2 separate regions of the Homo sapiens genome follow, and region 2 is linked to region 1. The links are contacts of gene promoters, found by promoter capture Hi-C in blood cells and fetal thymus (Javierre and others, 2016). All regions are on one chromosome and are shown on one strand. The core of a region is centred on a gene start or on the middle of the fragment in contact, and the rest is flanking DNA. Distances in the headings are between cores, read along the strand shown. Region 1 holds the start of CSNK1D (casein kinase 1 delta). Region 2 overlaps OGFOD3 (2-oxoglutarate and iron dependent oxygenase domain containing 3).

Region 1 (6,968 bases), core at 2,426-4,925:
GCAATTCTCTTGCCTGGCCTCCTGGGTAGCTGGGACTACAGGTGCACGTCACTACGCCTGGCTAATGTTTGCATTTTTAGTAGAGACAGGGTTTCACATGCTGGCCAGGCTGGTCTCAAACTCCTGACCTCAGGTGATCCACCCACCTTGGCCTCTCAAAGTGTTGGGATTCCAGGCATAAACCACCGCGCCCAGCCTGATTCTTTCCCTTTGTTAGCAGATTCTTTCTAAATGGGTATCTGTAAACTTTCCTCTTTCTCTGTTTCTATAGTTTGGGTGTTGGTCCCCTTCAAACCTCAGGTTGAAATCTGAGCCCCAGTGTTGGAGGTGTCTGGGTCATGGGGGCAGATTCCTCACGAACAGTTTGGTGCTGTCCTCTTAGTAATGAGTGAGTTTTCACTCCTACTAGTTCCAGCAAGAGGTGCTTTTAAAAACACCTGCACGGCCGGCACGGTGCCTCATGCCTATAATCTCAGCACTTTGGGAGGCTAAGGCGGGCGGATCACGAGGTCAGAAGTTCAAGATCAGCCTGACCAACATGGTGAAACCCCGTCTCTACAAAAATACAAAAATTAGCCGGGCATAGTGGCGCATGCCTCTAATCCCAGCTACTCAGCAGGCTGAGGCAGGAGAATCGCTTGAACCCGGGAGGCGGAGGTTGCAGTGAGCCGGCATTGCGCCACTGCGCTCCAGCCTGGGCAACAGAGCGAGACTCCATCTTAAAAAAAAAAAAAAAGGCCTGTACTTCCCTACTCCTCCAGCTCCCTCTCGCACACGGTCTGCACACACTCCAGCTGCCCTTCACCTTCTGCCATGAGTGGAGGCAGCGGCAGCAAGGCCCTCACTAGAGGCAGACGCCCGATCTTGAACTTTTGAGACCTCAGCATCGTGAGCTGTGTTAGGCTGTGGTTGCCTTGCTATAAAGAAATACTTAGGACTGGGCAATTTTAAAAGAAAAGAGGGCCGGCATGGTAGCTCATGCGTGTGATCCCAGCACTCTGGAAGGCCAAGGTGGATGGATCACTTGAGCTCAGAAGTTTGAGACCAGTCTGGGCCAGTAAGACCCCATGTCTACAAAAAATATGAAAAATTAGCCAGGTATGGTGGCGTGTGCCTGTAGTCCCAGCTACTCAGGAGGGTGAGGTGGGAGGATCACCTGAGCCCAGGAGGCAGAGGTTGCAGTGAGCCGAGATCACGCCACTGCACTCCAGCCTGGGCAACAGAGCGAGACCCTGTGTCAAAATAAATAAATAAATAAATAAATAAATAATGAAAAGAGGTTTACTTGGCTCCTGGTTCTGCAGGCTTTACAGGAGGCATGGTGCTGGCCTCTGCTCAGCTTCTGGGGAGGCCTCCGGAAGCTTCCAATCATGGTGAAAGGCAATGGGGGAGCGGGCACGTCACATGGCCAGAGCAGGAGCGAGCGAGCGAGTGAGCGAGAGAGAGAGGTGCCCCACACTTTTTAAATAACCAGATCTCAGGAGAACTCACTATCTCAAGGACAGCACCAAGGGGATGGTACTAAACATTCCTGAGAAATCCACCCCCATGACCCAGCCACCTCCAGCCTTGGGGTTTACAATTCAACATGAGGTTTAGTGTGGACAAATATACAAATTACCTCATGATTCTTCATAAATTTCCCAGCCTCAGGTGTTTCTTGATAGCAACAGTAAAGGAGCTAAGACACTGTGGCGTTCAGTTGTATCAGGACAGACCTGGGTGTGGGCTGGCCCTCATACGTCCTGCCGGGAGCTCTGGGGGCTTTCCAGTCTGCAGGTCGGGACGTCCTTCTACTCTGAGATGTTCTAGTATCATCAAACCGCCCCACAGACCATGCCTGGAGACTCTGCCTCACACATCCGTTCCCAGCGGTCACCAGCCCCGCATCCCTCCCTCGTCACCGCATCTGTGCGTCTCCTCTGTGACGGAGGCTGTTCCTTGGCAATGACTATCCTCAGCTTCAGCCCCCTGCTGACAGTTTTCTAGCTCAGAACCTGGCCATGTCTGCACCCTCCCTGTCTTCTCGGAAGGGGTGCTGTCATTCCCTGGGCTACACACCTGCTTTGTCCTCCTCTCTCTGACCCCAGGGCTCCAGGGTACCACTGTCCTCTTCCTTTGTCAGTTTGTTGTGGCTGGGGCTGGTGGTGGGGGAGCCACAGCAATCAGCCTGCCTCACCTTGCCCAGCCCGCATGTTCCCAGGGCTCCTGCCATCCCCACTACACCACAGCCCAGTCCGTGTGCACGGGTTATAGAGTCAAGACACAAACACACAAAAGCCAGGCAGACGGGCACAGTACCTGCCGCAGCTGCATGAAGCTTGGGGCACTATGGGTGAGAAGAGCTAGAAATGTTGGGGCCATCAGAGCCCAGGAGGACCAGCCGAGGGAGGAGCAGCTGACAGGTGGGCAGGTGCCCCTAGTCAGGGACAGCAGGACTCCCCAGGAAGAAGGATCACAGCCACCCGTGGGAGAGCTGGACTCTGTTCATCAACAGAAAAGCCGTGAGCGATTCCGCCAACAAGGTCAGTTTTACTAGTCTGGCAGCCCCCCACCCCCGGCTTCTGTAACTCAGAAACTGGGCAGTTCCGACTGCCCATCCCTCATTAGTGACTGATGGTGGTCTGGCCGGCGGCATCTCCTGTCTCCAGGCCCTGCTATGTAATTTCGGGAATGGACGCCCGTCTCCCCGACCTGACCTCCAGCTGTTTGGAGCTGAGGGGTGGAGAGGAAAGACTGGGGGGTGGAGAAAGGCGAGCACCACTGTGGGGCCTGTGGGGGCTGCTTTCCTCTTCTGCAGTGACCTGGACGGGCTGAGGCTGCTGTCTCACTCACACGGCGGTGCCCACACCACAGCCCTGGTATGCTAATGCGTCAAAACACACCTTCACCTGTTTCACATTCTTGAGTTTCAGCGAGGATGCGACAGGTCTCGAGACACATGGACGTGGGACCATGGGGACGGGTTCTTCAAGGTCCCCATGCACCTGCAGCCTGGGGGGGCTTGTCTGAAGGGCTTTCTTCCCAGTGATGGGAATCAAAGGCCCCGATCTTTGAAGCTGGCCATCAGCCTGAACGTCCACTCCTTGTTTCCTTTGCAAGGAGGAACATTCAGATCCAACACAGATAAGAATGTTGACTCCGTCTCCAGGCCGCAGGGACTGGAGGGAGGCAGGTGGTCTGGCCTCATTTTGTGAAAGGTGGTGGCTTTGTCCTCAATCTTCAGGCTGGACATCAGGACCTCCCAGGGCGCGGGCCTGCTCTGTCTCTGGCCTTAGGTGTCAGGAGGTAAGGCCGCAGACGCTGACGTACTGGGATGCCCCAAGCCCGGGAACTGGCAGCCCAGTGAGGGGGTCTCACCTGTGTCCCCTGAGCCTGGCCTGTCACTCTGTCCACGCCTCAGCTACCTGTCCCCTCCTGCAAAGGGCACCGCCTGTCGCGAGGAACTCACCTGGCTTCCTCGACATCTCGGGGGACACACGAAAAGCCCCCGCGAGAGCAGCAGGAGCCTGCACGTGGAAGGGGCTGGCGGCCCGAGGTCCCGGGGTAACAGGAGGGCAGAGGGGCTGGGCACGGCGCAGGGTCGGGAGGAGGCCTGGAGCGCTCGCCCCGCCCGGCCCCGCCCCTGGAGCGCCGCGGCCCCGCCCCGCCGGGTTGCTAGGGGAAGTGACGTCACAGCGCGATGGCGGCGGCTCCTTTAGGCAGCTGAAAGGGGATTTAGGCCCGGAAGATCCGAGTCCATCCGCGGCGGGGAGAGGGCAAGCGGGACCGGTAGGGGCCGGAGCAGCGGCGGCGGCGCTCGGACTGTCCCATCCGCCCCGTATTGAGGCGCTGGGAGCGGCGGGGCGACAGGAAAGCGATGGTGAAAGCGGGGCCGTGAGGGGGGCGGAGCCGGGAGCCGGACCCGCAGTAGCGGCAGCAGCGGCGCCGCCTCCCAGAGTTCAGACCCAGGAAGCGGCCGGGAGGGCAGGAGCGAATCGGGCCGCCGCCGCCATGGAGCTGAGAGTCGGGAACAGGTACCGGCTGGGCCGGAAGATCGGCAGCGGCTCCTTCGGAGACATCTATCTCGGTGAGGCCCCGCCGCCCCCGCCCGCCGCCCGAAGACCCGGGCCCTGCGGCTGCCAAGACCAAGCGCGATCGCGGAAGGAAGTGGTGGCCCCCGCGGGGTCTCCGCGCAAGTCCCGGCACCGCCGGATCGTGGCCAGAACCCAACGGCCACTAGGCTAGCGCGGCCAGGGGTGGGGAGGGCAGTGGGGAGCGGACGTGGGGGAGGGGCAGGACCAGGTCGGGGGAGCAGGGTCTGGAGAGGGGAGGGTTGGGGAAGGAGGGGATAGGGGAGCTGACCCGGGGTGGGGCATGGTCTCTGGGGAGCCGACCTGGGTAGGGGCAGGGTCGTGGGGAGCGGACTCGGGAAGGGCTGGGTGGGGCGTGGGGAGGCGGGCCTGGGGGAGGGGCAGGGCGGGGGTGGGGGCAGCGGGCCGTGGGAGGGGAGGGGGTAGGGCTGGGGCCGCGAAGCGGGCGTCGGCTTCCTCTACGCCTAAGGTCACCGCAGTAAACAAAGGCCACGCTCTTTCTTCCGCAGCCCGGTCCGGGGCTGTCTGGCTGCCCCCTCAGAGGCTGCCCCGGTGTCTTGCATTCGTGGGGGAAAATGTCAGAAAGACCCAAATGCCGTGTGGAGCGGGGGAGTGGCCCGGCTAGGAGTGGGGCTTGCCCTCCCGCTGGGGGTTCTCTCTGAACGGTTCCCCTTGGCCTTGGAGCGGTGACTGAGTGCAAATGAGCAAGGGTTAAGTTTAGGTGAATGTAGAGAAAGTCACACAGGATTAAGATGCTGGCAAGATGAGAGGCAGATGAGGTAGTTGTACTCATGAGGTGTCCTTTAGACTGTAACAGTCTCAAGGTAGATTTCAAAAACAATGGGATTAGAAGGTTTTGGGTTGTGTCATATTTACAATGGAAAAATATGCACGTGAACACAAGTGTGATGAAAGGTTGGCTTAAATCTTCAAGTTTGTAATTTTTTTTTTTTTCCTGAGACGGAGTTTCGCTCTTGTTGCCCAGGTTGGAGTGCAATGGCGTGATCTCGGCTCACCGCAACCTCTGCCTCCCAGGTTCAAGCGATTCTCCTGCCTCAGCCTCCCGAAAAGCTGGGATCACAGGCGTGCGCCACCACGCCTGGCTAATTTCGTATTTTTAGTAGAGACGGGGTTTCTTCATGTTGGTCAAGGCTGGTCTCGAACTCCGGACCTCAAGTGATCCGCCCAGTTCGGCCTCCCGAAGTGCTGGGAAGCCACCGCGCCTGGCCCAAGTTTGTAATTTTAAAGTAACTTAATTTTCCGCACTTGTTAGTGGGATTGTGCAATGCACGAGTTATTCCAAGATCCCCTGAATTTGAGGATATGTAGCCTGAGGCGGTGTGCCTGCAGAGGGGCTGCTGCAGACCTTTGAGGGGAGCTGTTTTCTGTTCCAGCAGCCCTAGCTTTGGGGTGTGTTTTAACTGGGGCACCTGTCAGCTAGGGTCAGGAATCCCCTGGGATGTCAGTAATGCCTCTGGTCATACCTTTTAGATGAAGCCACATGTGGACAGTCTCCAGTTCTCACACCCTTCCCACTTGTCACCAGAGAGAGGACTCAGGACCCGGTGGGCTGACAGCGTTAGGACGAATCCACACATATGGGTGGCTCATACTTTCGGTGCCTGGTTAACCTGCCAGGTGACCCTGTCACATGCCATATTGTTGCTTTTGAACCTGTACATATGCCTTAGTGGACTGCTGAGTAAGCAGGCTTTAGACATTTGGGTTTGGCTATTAAACATTTATACCAGGTGGTCAGCTGGATGTGTTCTTGGCAGTGTTTGGGAAGTCAGAGTGCTTGGTCAATGGAAGTCGTTTGGCTTATTTATAGAACAATGGATTTTGGCGAAAGTTTTAACCCCAGGATCTGAGTTACACTGCAAAGCCAGTCCATTAGCCACCTTTAGGCAGGCATCAAAAAGGAGTATTTTGGGCCGGGTGTGGTGGCTCACGCCTGTAATCCCAGCACTTTGGGAAGCTGAGGTGGGCGGGTCGCTTGAGGTCAGGAGACCAGCCTGGCCAAAGTGGCGAAACCCCATCTCTACTAAAAATACAAAAATTGGCCAGGCGTGGTGGTGGCTGCCTGTAATTCCAGCTACTTGGGAGGCTGAGGCACGAGAATTGCTTGAACCTGGGAGGCGGAGGTTGCAGTGAGCCAAGATCACACCACTGCACTGCAGCCTGGGCGATGGAGTGAGACTCTGTCTCAAAAAATAAATAAATAAGAAGTACTTTGAAACTATCTGTTCTCTGATCTGAGACCTTGTCAAACAACTTTGTGCTTTCCAAAGATAGATTAAGACAAATTTTGGTGTGGTTGTCACCAAGTAATTCCAGAGGTGGAGGGTGGAAGGCTGTCTCCTCACTCAGCATTCTACCCTCCAGGCCTCACCTCGCGCTGGGCATACAGTCATGCTGGATACGGGATTGCGGGCGGCTGTGGCTCTGACACCCTGGGGTTGGAGCCCCCAGACAGCCGTCCCAGACAGCCACCCATCAGGGTACACGTCCAGTTACTTGAGTGGGGTTAGGCACAGCTGATTTTTTTTTTTCCCATCAGCATTGGCTCCTAGCCTACACTGTGGTCCTTTCAGACGACCCCACGGAGGAAAGGCGAGGTGGTCACGTTAGCCGGAGTAAGGCAGTTTGAAAGAAGCGTGGGTCTGAGCAGAATGGCAGTTAGAGTCAAAGATGGCTGATCTGAAGACTATGAGATGGATCGGTCATCCCCACCATAGTTTTGTTTGGGCAGCCAGTTACACATAAATCGAGGAACTAGGTCTTCATCTTGACCTCTGTGTGTCGTGTATATTCTAGTATGAGTATCGTTAAGACCATTCCTACTGTTGTCACTTTGGTATCCTCCAGGTGGGGTTCACCTTGCTTTGAGCTTGG
Region 2 (7,298 bases), core at 4,459-6,958, 130 kb before region 1:
GATCTCGGCTCACTGCAACCTCCGCCAGGCCTCTTGGGTTCAAGTGATTCTCCTGCCTCAGCCTCCTGAGTAGCTGGGACTACAGGCACCTGCCACCATGTCTGGCTAATTTTTGTAATTTTAGTAGAGACGGTGTTTTGCCTATGTTGCCCAGGCTGATCTCAAACTGCTGACCTCAGGTGATCCACCTGCCTTGGCCTCCTAAGGCCCTGGGGTTACAGGCATGAGCCACTGCGCCTGGCCTCTAATTTTTATTATTATTGTTTTTTAACTCATGAATTACTTGGAAATTTAAAAGATTTGGAAATGCGTGGGATTTTTGGTCCCTTTTCACAACGTTGTGGGTATTTCTCCTGACCCACGCTCGTGTGCACAAATTCTCATCACCAGTTTCTGTCTCCTTCACCCACCGGCTATGGAAAGGGGCGTCAGAACCTCCACTGAGCATGGACCCAGCAGCGTCTGTGCTTTGGTTGCCACGTGTGTCATGGGGCGATGCTGTCTGCTGTCTGCTGCCCCTTCCCCTTCCTGCCGAGTCGCTCCTGTGCCGCGGGGGACCCTCTCTTCCCTCTAGTGATTCTCTTTGCTAGTACAGAGGCTGCGCCACGGGCCTGTGTGGCTCTCATTGCATTTGCTGTTTGCTTTCCGCTTTCCTGTGTCCTCGCGTTTTGTGGGGTAAACCTTATAAAAAAGCATAAAATGACTTTTTGTTTTTGAAATACAACACCTATGTCCATTAGATCATTTAACCACAGTAACTACAGCCCCCCTTCCCTGATATTCAGCCAAGTGGAGCTCTGTTTATCTCCTGGCACAAGGCCCAGAGAAAGGAACCAAGGTCATCTCGGTGCCTTGTGATCCCTGGGTCCAAGCCCCTGATGCTGGCACTCAGCACTGAGTGCGAGGCTTTTATTCCCATGGTCCCGGGAGGGATGCTCCACGTCCAGGCTCAGGGCTGGCTTTTTAGGCAGGATGTAGGGAGAGGGAGGAAAAGCATATTGTGGAGTCCCGGTTTGCCCCATGTCCTGGTGCTTGTGGGCTGCTGTCTGATCGATCAGGCATGGCCTGACGCCTTTCCAGCGCATGAAGCCAGCTGCACTTGGTACCAAACCACAGGGGCGGGTCCCTGGGCCCCTCTCCGACACTCTGCTGTACCTTGTGCATCTGTGCGATGCTGCCTCGACCACCCTGCCCCTGCCCTGACCACCCTGCCCCAAACACCCTAACCCTGTCTGACCACCCTGCCCCTGCCCCAAACACCCTGCCCCTGCCCTGTCCACCTTTCCTCTGCCCAATGACCCTGACTCCTGTCCACTCTGATCCTGTCCCAACGACACTGCCGCTGCCCCAAACGACCTTGCCCCTGCCCCGATAACCATGCCCCTGCCCCGATAACCATGCCCCTGCCCCGATAACCATGCCCCTGCCCCGATAACCATGCCCCTGCCCCGATAACCATGCCCCTGCCCCGATAACCATGCCCCTGCCCCGATAACCATGCCCCTGCCCCGACCGTGTTGCTCCTGTCCCAACGACCCTGCCCCTGCCCCGACCACCCTGACCCCCATTTGAGCTGCTGCTTCCTCTTCCCTCTCAGCCTCCGCAGGTCACCAAGGTACGGGGAGAGACAGGGGCATGTGCGGAGCAGTTCGCTGTGCCCTGGGGAAGGACTGGGACTAGACCCACAAGCTCCACTCTGGTGGTCTCAGGAGGGTTTTCTGCTCCAGTGGTCTCAGGAGGGTTTTCCTCTCTGGCGGTCTCAGGAGGGTTTTCTGCGCCAGTGGTCCCAGGAGGGTCTTCCTCTCTGGTGGTCTCAGGAGGGTTTTCTGCTCTGGTGGTCTCAGGAGGGTTCCCCCCTCTGGTGGCCTCAGGAGGGTTTTCCTCCCTGGTGGTCTCAGGAGGGTTTTCCTCTCTGGCGGTCTCAGGAGGGTTTTCTGCTCTGGTGGTCTCAGAAGGGTTTTCTGACGGTGCCTGTGGGTGTCTGGACCTGCAGTCAGTGATGGTTCAGGAATGCTGTTGACGCCGTGTCTGGGGTTTCTGTGACTTTCCCAGGGTTTGGGGCAGCAACAGGTGCCTCTGGATTAAATTTCCAGTTGGAGCCACTGGAAGCCAAGGTGGCCCAGTGAGACGTGAACTCCAGATGCACCGCACAAAGCGCATGCACGCTGGAGAGCTGTGGTTGTGTGTGTCTGAAATTCACATTTGACCGGGCGTATTAGCCAGTTCTGGCCCTGATTCCCTGGAAGGGCATGCGCCGGTGGCCTTGGAAACTGCGTCTCACCCTGGCTGTCCCTTCACAGGCTGCACTCCCCGAAAGTGCGGCAGAGGTGTCACCGATGTCGTCATCACCAGGGAGGAAGCGGAGCGGATTCGCAGGTAACCGCCTGTCCCTGAGCACGGTGGGATTCAAACAAACACACGCGGAGTGGGGCTAGGGCGGGAAGCAGAGCATTGTTAGTAATAAAGTGGTTTTAAGGATTTTATTGCCAGGCGTGGTGGCTCACGCCTGTAATCCCAGCACTTGGGGAGGCTGAGGCGGGCAGATTGCCTGAGTTCAGGAGTTCGAGACCAGCCTGGGCAACATGGTGAAACCCTGTCTCTACTAAAATACAATAAATTAGCTGGGTGTGGTGGCATGTGCCTGTAGTCCCAGCTACTCAGGAGGCTGAGGCAGGAGAATCGCTGGAACCCGGGAGGCAGAGGTTGCAGTGAGCCAAGACTGCACCACTGCACTCCATCCTGGGCGACAGAGCGAGATTCTATCTCCAAAAAAAAAAAAAAGATTTTATTATAATTTTATAAGAATTTCCAGGCTGGGTGCGGTGGCTCATGCCTGTAATCCTAGCACTTGGGGAGGCCAAGGCGGGTGGATTGCCTGAGCTCAGGAGATCGACACCAGCCTGGGCAACATGGTGAAACCCCTGTCTCTACTAAAATATGAAAAATTAGCCGAGTGTGATGGCACACTCCTGTAATCCCAGCTACTCAGGAGGCTGAGACAGGAGAATTGCTTGAACCTGGGAGGCAGGGATTGCAGTGAGCCGAGATTGAGCCATTGCATTCCAGCCTGGGTGACAGAGTGAGACTCCATCTCAAAAAAAAAAAAAAAAAAAAAAAAAAGAATTATGTGCTTTCAAGGGCCAAGCTCAGATTTTCCGATTTCAGGAGAGGAGACCATGGCCCTCAGCGAAGCAGTAGCTGGGAGAGTACCCAGAGGCCCAGGTTCCTCTGCAGGGGTTGTGGCCGCCTCTGGGGGCTGCTGCTGAGTGCCCCATGCTCCCCACGGAGCCTCCGGGACACTGCTCAATGACCGCTCAGTGTCTGCTCTGAAACTGCCTCCAGGGAGCCCGTCAGCCCACCTGGCTATGACTTGTGGCAGCACAGGATGCCACTCAGAGGCTACTGGTGCTGGACTTTTCTTACTGAGATCTTAAAAGAAAGTTTTGATTTTCCAACCACTTGTTGAGACGATAAGCATGTGGAATGGTGTGCAGCCCTGGGCCACGTGCCCTGCCCTGAGATTCTCCCCAGGGAGCCTGCCCCCGAGGATGCTGCCTAGCTCCACGCAGGGTTACTGCTGCCTAGCTCCAGTGGGGTTACTGCTGTCTGACTGAGGCACCGGCGTGTCCCCACTTGGTGTCCACAGGCAGCTCCCAGCACCTGTGGCAGCTCAGGGTGGTCCTCTGTGGTCCAGCACAGCTGGCGTGTGGGTGTCTTTCTCCCACCATGGTCAGGGCCCCTATCTCCTGAGCTGGTGAATCTCAAAGCTTCCCCCACCTGCCTGGGGTTCCAGGAGAGATGGGGAGCAGTGGGCCCTCCCCTAGATGCTCCCCAGGCTCCTGAGCTTGGCCCAGGTGGCTTTCGATATTGAAGATGAGAGATTAAGCCCAGCCCTCCCTTTCTCTCTCTCTCTCTCTCTCTCTTTTTCTTTCTTTCTTGACAGAGTCTTGCTTTGTTGTCCAGGCTGGAGTGCAGTGGCGCGATCTCGGCTCACTGCAACCTCTGCCTTCTGGGTTCAAGCGATTCTCCTGGCTCAGCCTCCAGAGTAGCTGGGATTACAGGCACCTGCCATCACAGCTGGCTAATTTTTGTATTTTTAGTTGAGACGAGGTTTCACCATGTTGGCCAGGCTGGTCTGGAACTCCTGACCTCGTGATCCACCCGCCTTGGCCTCCCAAGGTGCTGAAGCCCAGTCGTTTCTAAGCTGAGTCAAATATTGACAAGACAACGATGGCAGTATTGTCGCTTACGCACTGAACTTTGAAAGTTGAGTCCTTTGGTCTAAACATTTGTTTACATCATAAACATTAAACACGCAGGACCCACTAATGTTGCATTAATTTTGCTGATTGACGTTTGCCTAGATTATACATTATAGACAATTCTAGCAACGAAATTCTGAATTATTTTCTCCCTGCAGCGTAGCTGAAAAGGGGCTCTCCCTGGGAGGATCTGACGGAGGGGTGAGTTGAATGTAGTCCCTGCCCCCCTTTTTTTACCCGTTAACTTTGCTCTCACTTGGATGGGAAGGGGAAGGCACAGACATGCAGGGTTCCCTGCGTGCCCCCAAATGTGGGTGGGGCCTGCCGTGGTGTTTCTCAGCACCAGCCGCAGCAGCTGCGCCTGACTGAAACCCGTGCGGCGTCCCCTCGTTGGGAAGAGTGTGTCCTTAGATGTGCGTGGCCATCTATTCATGGCATGTCACGGCCTGCCTGGCTCCAGTTCACACTGGGGGATAGAGGGGGTCGGAAGCAGGGAGCCGGCAAGGGAGCGGGGTGGGAGCCCAGCGAGGAGACGGCTGCGCATGCTGGACACAGGAGAGCCCGTGGAGCTGCCGGGAAACAGCAGGGCCTCCGTGGGACAGACACGCTGCAACGCATCCTGCAACTTCCTAGCTGGACGCCTCCATGGACGCCCTGTGGGGCTGTCGTCCCATGTGAGGCTGCAGGGGGTCAGCTAGTGGCCTCGGATAATGTGTTCACCTGGAGCCCGTGGACATGATCTGATTTGGAAAAGGGACCTTTGCAGATGTAATTAACTTAAGGATCTCAAGATGACATCATCCCAGATTTAGGGTCCTAAATCCAATGGCAAGTGCCTATAGGAGACAGAGGCAGGGGGAGATTTGAGAGGGAGGAGGAAAAGGTCCTGTGATGATGGAGGCAGAGATGGGAGCAGTGCGGCCATGGAAGAGGCGGGCAGGACCTCCCCTGGAGCCCTGGGAGGGAGCAGGGCCCCTCCCACACCTCGATTTTAGACTCCTGGGCTCTAGAACTGTGAGAGAATAAACTTGTGTTGTTTTAAAGCCCCAGTTTGTGTTACCACAGCCGCAGGGATCATGGAGCCACCGCCGGCTGTGGCCTCGCCCTCCTGTTGGGCAGTGGCTGGGAGTCAGTCTGGTGCAGCTGGTGTTAGCTCCAATTCCCATGCGGTTTCCTCAGGGTTGTTTTCTTGCTCGGTGTGTGGAATTGTCTGAAGATCTGTTTCTCTCTGTTTATTTGGTGATCGCTTTGAATTATAATCACTGAATAGACTTGAGTCTTTCTGCATATTTGAAACTTCTAGAAAATTAATTTATAGACTCTTTGAGAATTTCAAAGTATTTCTGTGATGGTCTGTGTGACTTTTTTCTGCAAACTCTTTTCTCTTGAGTTCTGAAAATTAAGTTCCTTTTTTTCTTCTTTTTTTGAGACAGAGTCTCGCTCTGTTGCCCAGGCTGGAGTGCAATGGGGCGATCTCCACTCACTGCAACCTCCAACTCCTGGGTTCAAGCCATTCTTCTGCCTTAGCCTCCTGAGTAGCTGGGACTACAGGCATGTGCCATGATGCCCGGCTAATTTTTGCATTTTAAATAGAGATGAGGTTTCACCATGTTGGCCAGGCTGGTCTTGAACTCCAGAGCTCAGGTGACCCACCTGCCTTGACCCCCCAAAGTGCTGGGATTACAGGTGTGAACCACCGTGCCCGGCCTAAGTTCCTCCCTTTATTTCAGTTTGGTTTGGTTCAGTTCGGGGGCTATTTGTTAAAGATCTGTGAGTGAGTAGGTTTCTGTTTCACAGCTCCTCCACGTTCACATGGGAAGTTGTCCTGCATGGAGCTGGCTGGGCCGCTGCTTTGGGTTCAGTTACTGTTCAGCGGGCCCAAGCTAGGTTAGTGCCGCAGGGCCAGTGGCTGTGGCGATGAGGAAGGGGCAGCAGTGGGGCTCCTCTGGGGTCACAGGTGGGATGACTAACGTGGGCTGGAAGCCTCTTCCTCTGAGGACGTAGGGAAGGACTGAGAGGTGGGTGGTCGGGCAGGAAACACTTCAGCAGTGGCTTACAAAGTGATGACTCAGGCTTGGCGTGGCGCGCACTGTGGTGCCAGCCGCCCAGGAGGCCAAGGTGGGAGCACCGCTGTGAGGCATTTACTCGAGAGAAGTCAACACTTGCCCACAGGGACACATGACTGTGACTGGCACGGAGCTGCACGGAGATGGCTCCAGACTAAAAATAGCCCACACGTGCCACCATTCTTTAGGTCACAGGGAACAAAAGTGTTTGGTCCAGGAAGATTTTTTTTTTTTTTTGAGATGGAGTTTCGCTCTTGTAGCCCAGGCTGGAGTGCAATGGCACGATCTCGGCTCGCTGCAACCTCCGCCTCCCTGATTCAAGTGATTCTCCTGCCTCAGCCTCCCAAGTAGCTGGGATTACAGCTCCTTGGGAGGCTATCTCTGTAGGTGTCCCAGCTACAGCTGGGATTACAGCTCGCCACCATGCCCAGCTAATTTTGTATTTTTAGTAGACATGGGGTTTCACCATGTTAGCCAGGCTGGTTTTGAACTCCTGGCCTCAAGCAATCCACCTGTCTCAGCCTCCCAAAGTGCTGGGATTGCAGGTGTGAGCCACCACGTCTGGCCGGTCTGGGAGGATTTTAAGAAAGTCCTGGGTTGAGGCTGGGTGCAGTGGCTAATGCCTGTAATCCCAGTACTTTGGGAGGCTGAGGTGGGAGGATCACTTGAGCCCCGGAGTTCGAGACCAGCCTAGGTAATATAGTGAGACCACATCTCTACAAAAAATAGAAAAATTAGCCAGGTGTGGTGGCGAGCGCCTTTACTTGGGAGGCAGAGGGTGGGAGGATTGTTTGGCCTGGAGCCTGGAATATTGAGGCTGCAATGAGCTGAGATTGTGCCACTGCGCCCTAGCCTGGGCAACAGAATAAGATCCTTTTTACAAAAAACAAAAACAAAAACAAAAAAACACCTGAGGTGTGTGCTGGCCAGACCTTGGAAACTCGCATTTACCATCCATGACTTTTAACAG

Evidence for each region. The method cuts DNA at HindIII sites, captures the fragments that hold promoters and counts their contacts. A CHiCAGO score of 5 or more calls a contact.
Region 2: a fragment that was not itself captured here is called in contact with the fragment with the promoter of CSNK1D in region 1 in 4 of 17 cell types (activated CD4 T cells, naive CD4 T cells, naive CD8 T cells and 1 more); the score reaches 9.2 in activated CD4 T cells.

The regions. Positions count from the first base shown.
Region 1 is chr17:82,270,407-82,277,374 of GRCh38, reverse strand. CSNK1D (casein kinase 1 delta) reads left to right here and starts at 3,675. Exons shown (of 9, transcript NM_001893.6): 1 at 3,675-4,069. The coding sequence starts at 3,994. It overlaps LOC124904089 (a long non-coding RNA gene), which reads right to left and starts at 3,597. Exons shown (of 2, transcript XR_007065953.1): 1 at 2,302-3,597. RefSeq lists an enhancer at 175-674 and silencers at 3,536-3,745, 3,986-4,175, 4,226-4,275. The HindIII fragment of the contact is 9,296 bases long and covers 2,323-6,968 here.
Region 2 is chr17:82,406,533-82,413,830 of GRCh38, reverse strand. It overlaps OGFOD3 (2-oxoglutarate and iron dependent oxygenase domain containing 3), which reads left to right. Exons shown (of 9, transcript NM_024648.3): 3 at 2,301-2,376; 4 at 4,421-4,463. Among named protein-coding and RNA genes, the nearest start is that of HEXD, 8.2 kb to the left of the region's middle. The HindIII fragment of the contact is 3,878 bases long and covers 3,770-7,298 here.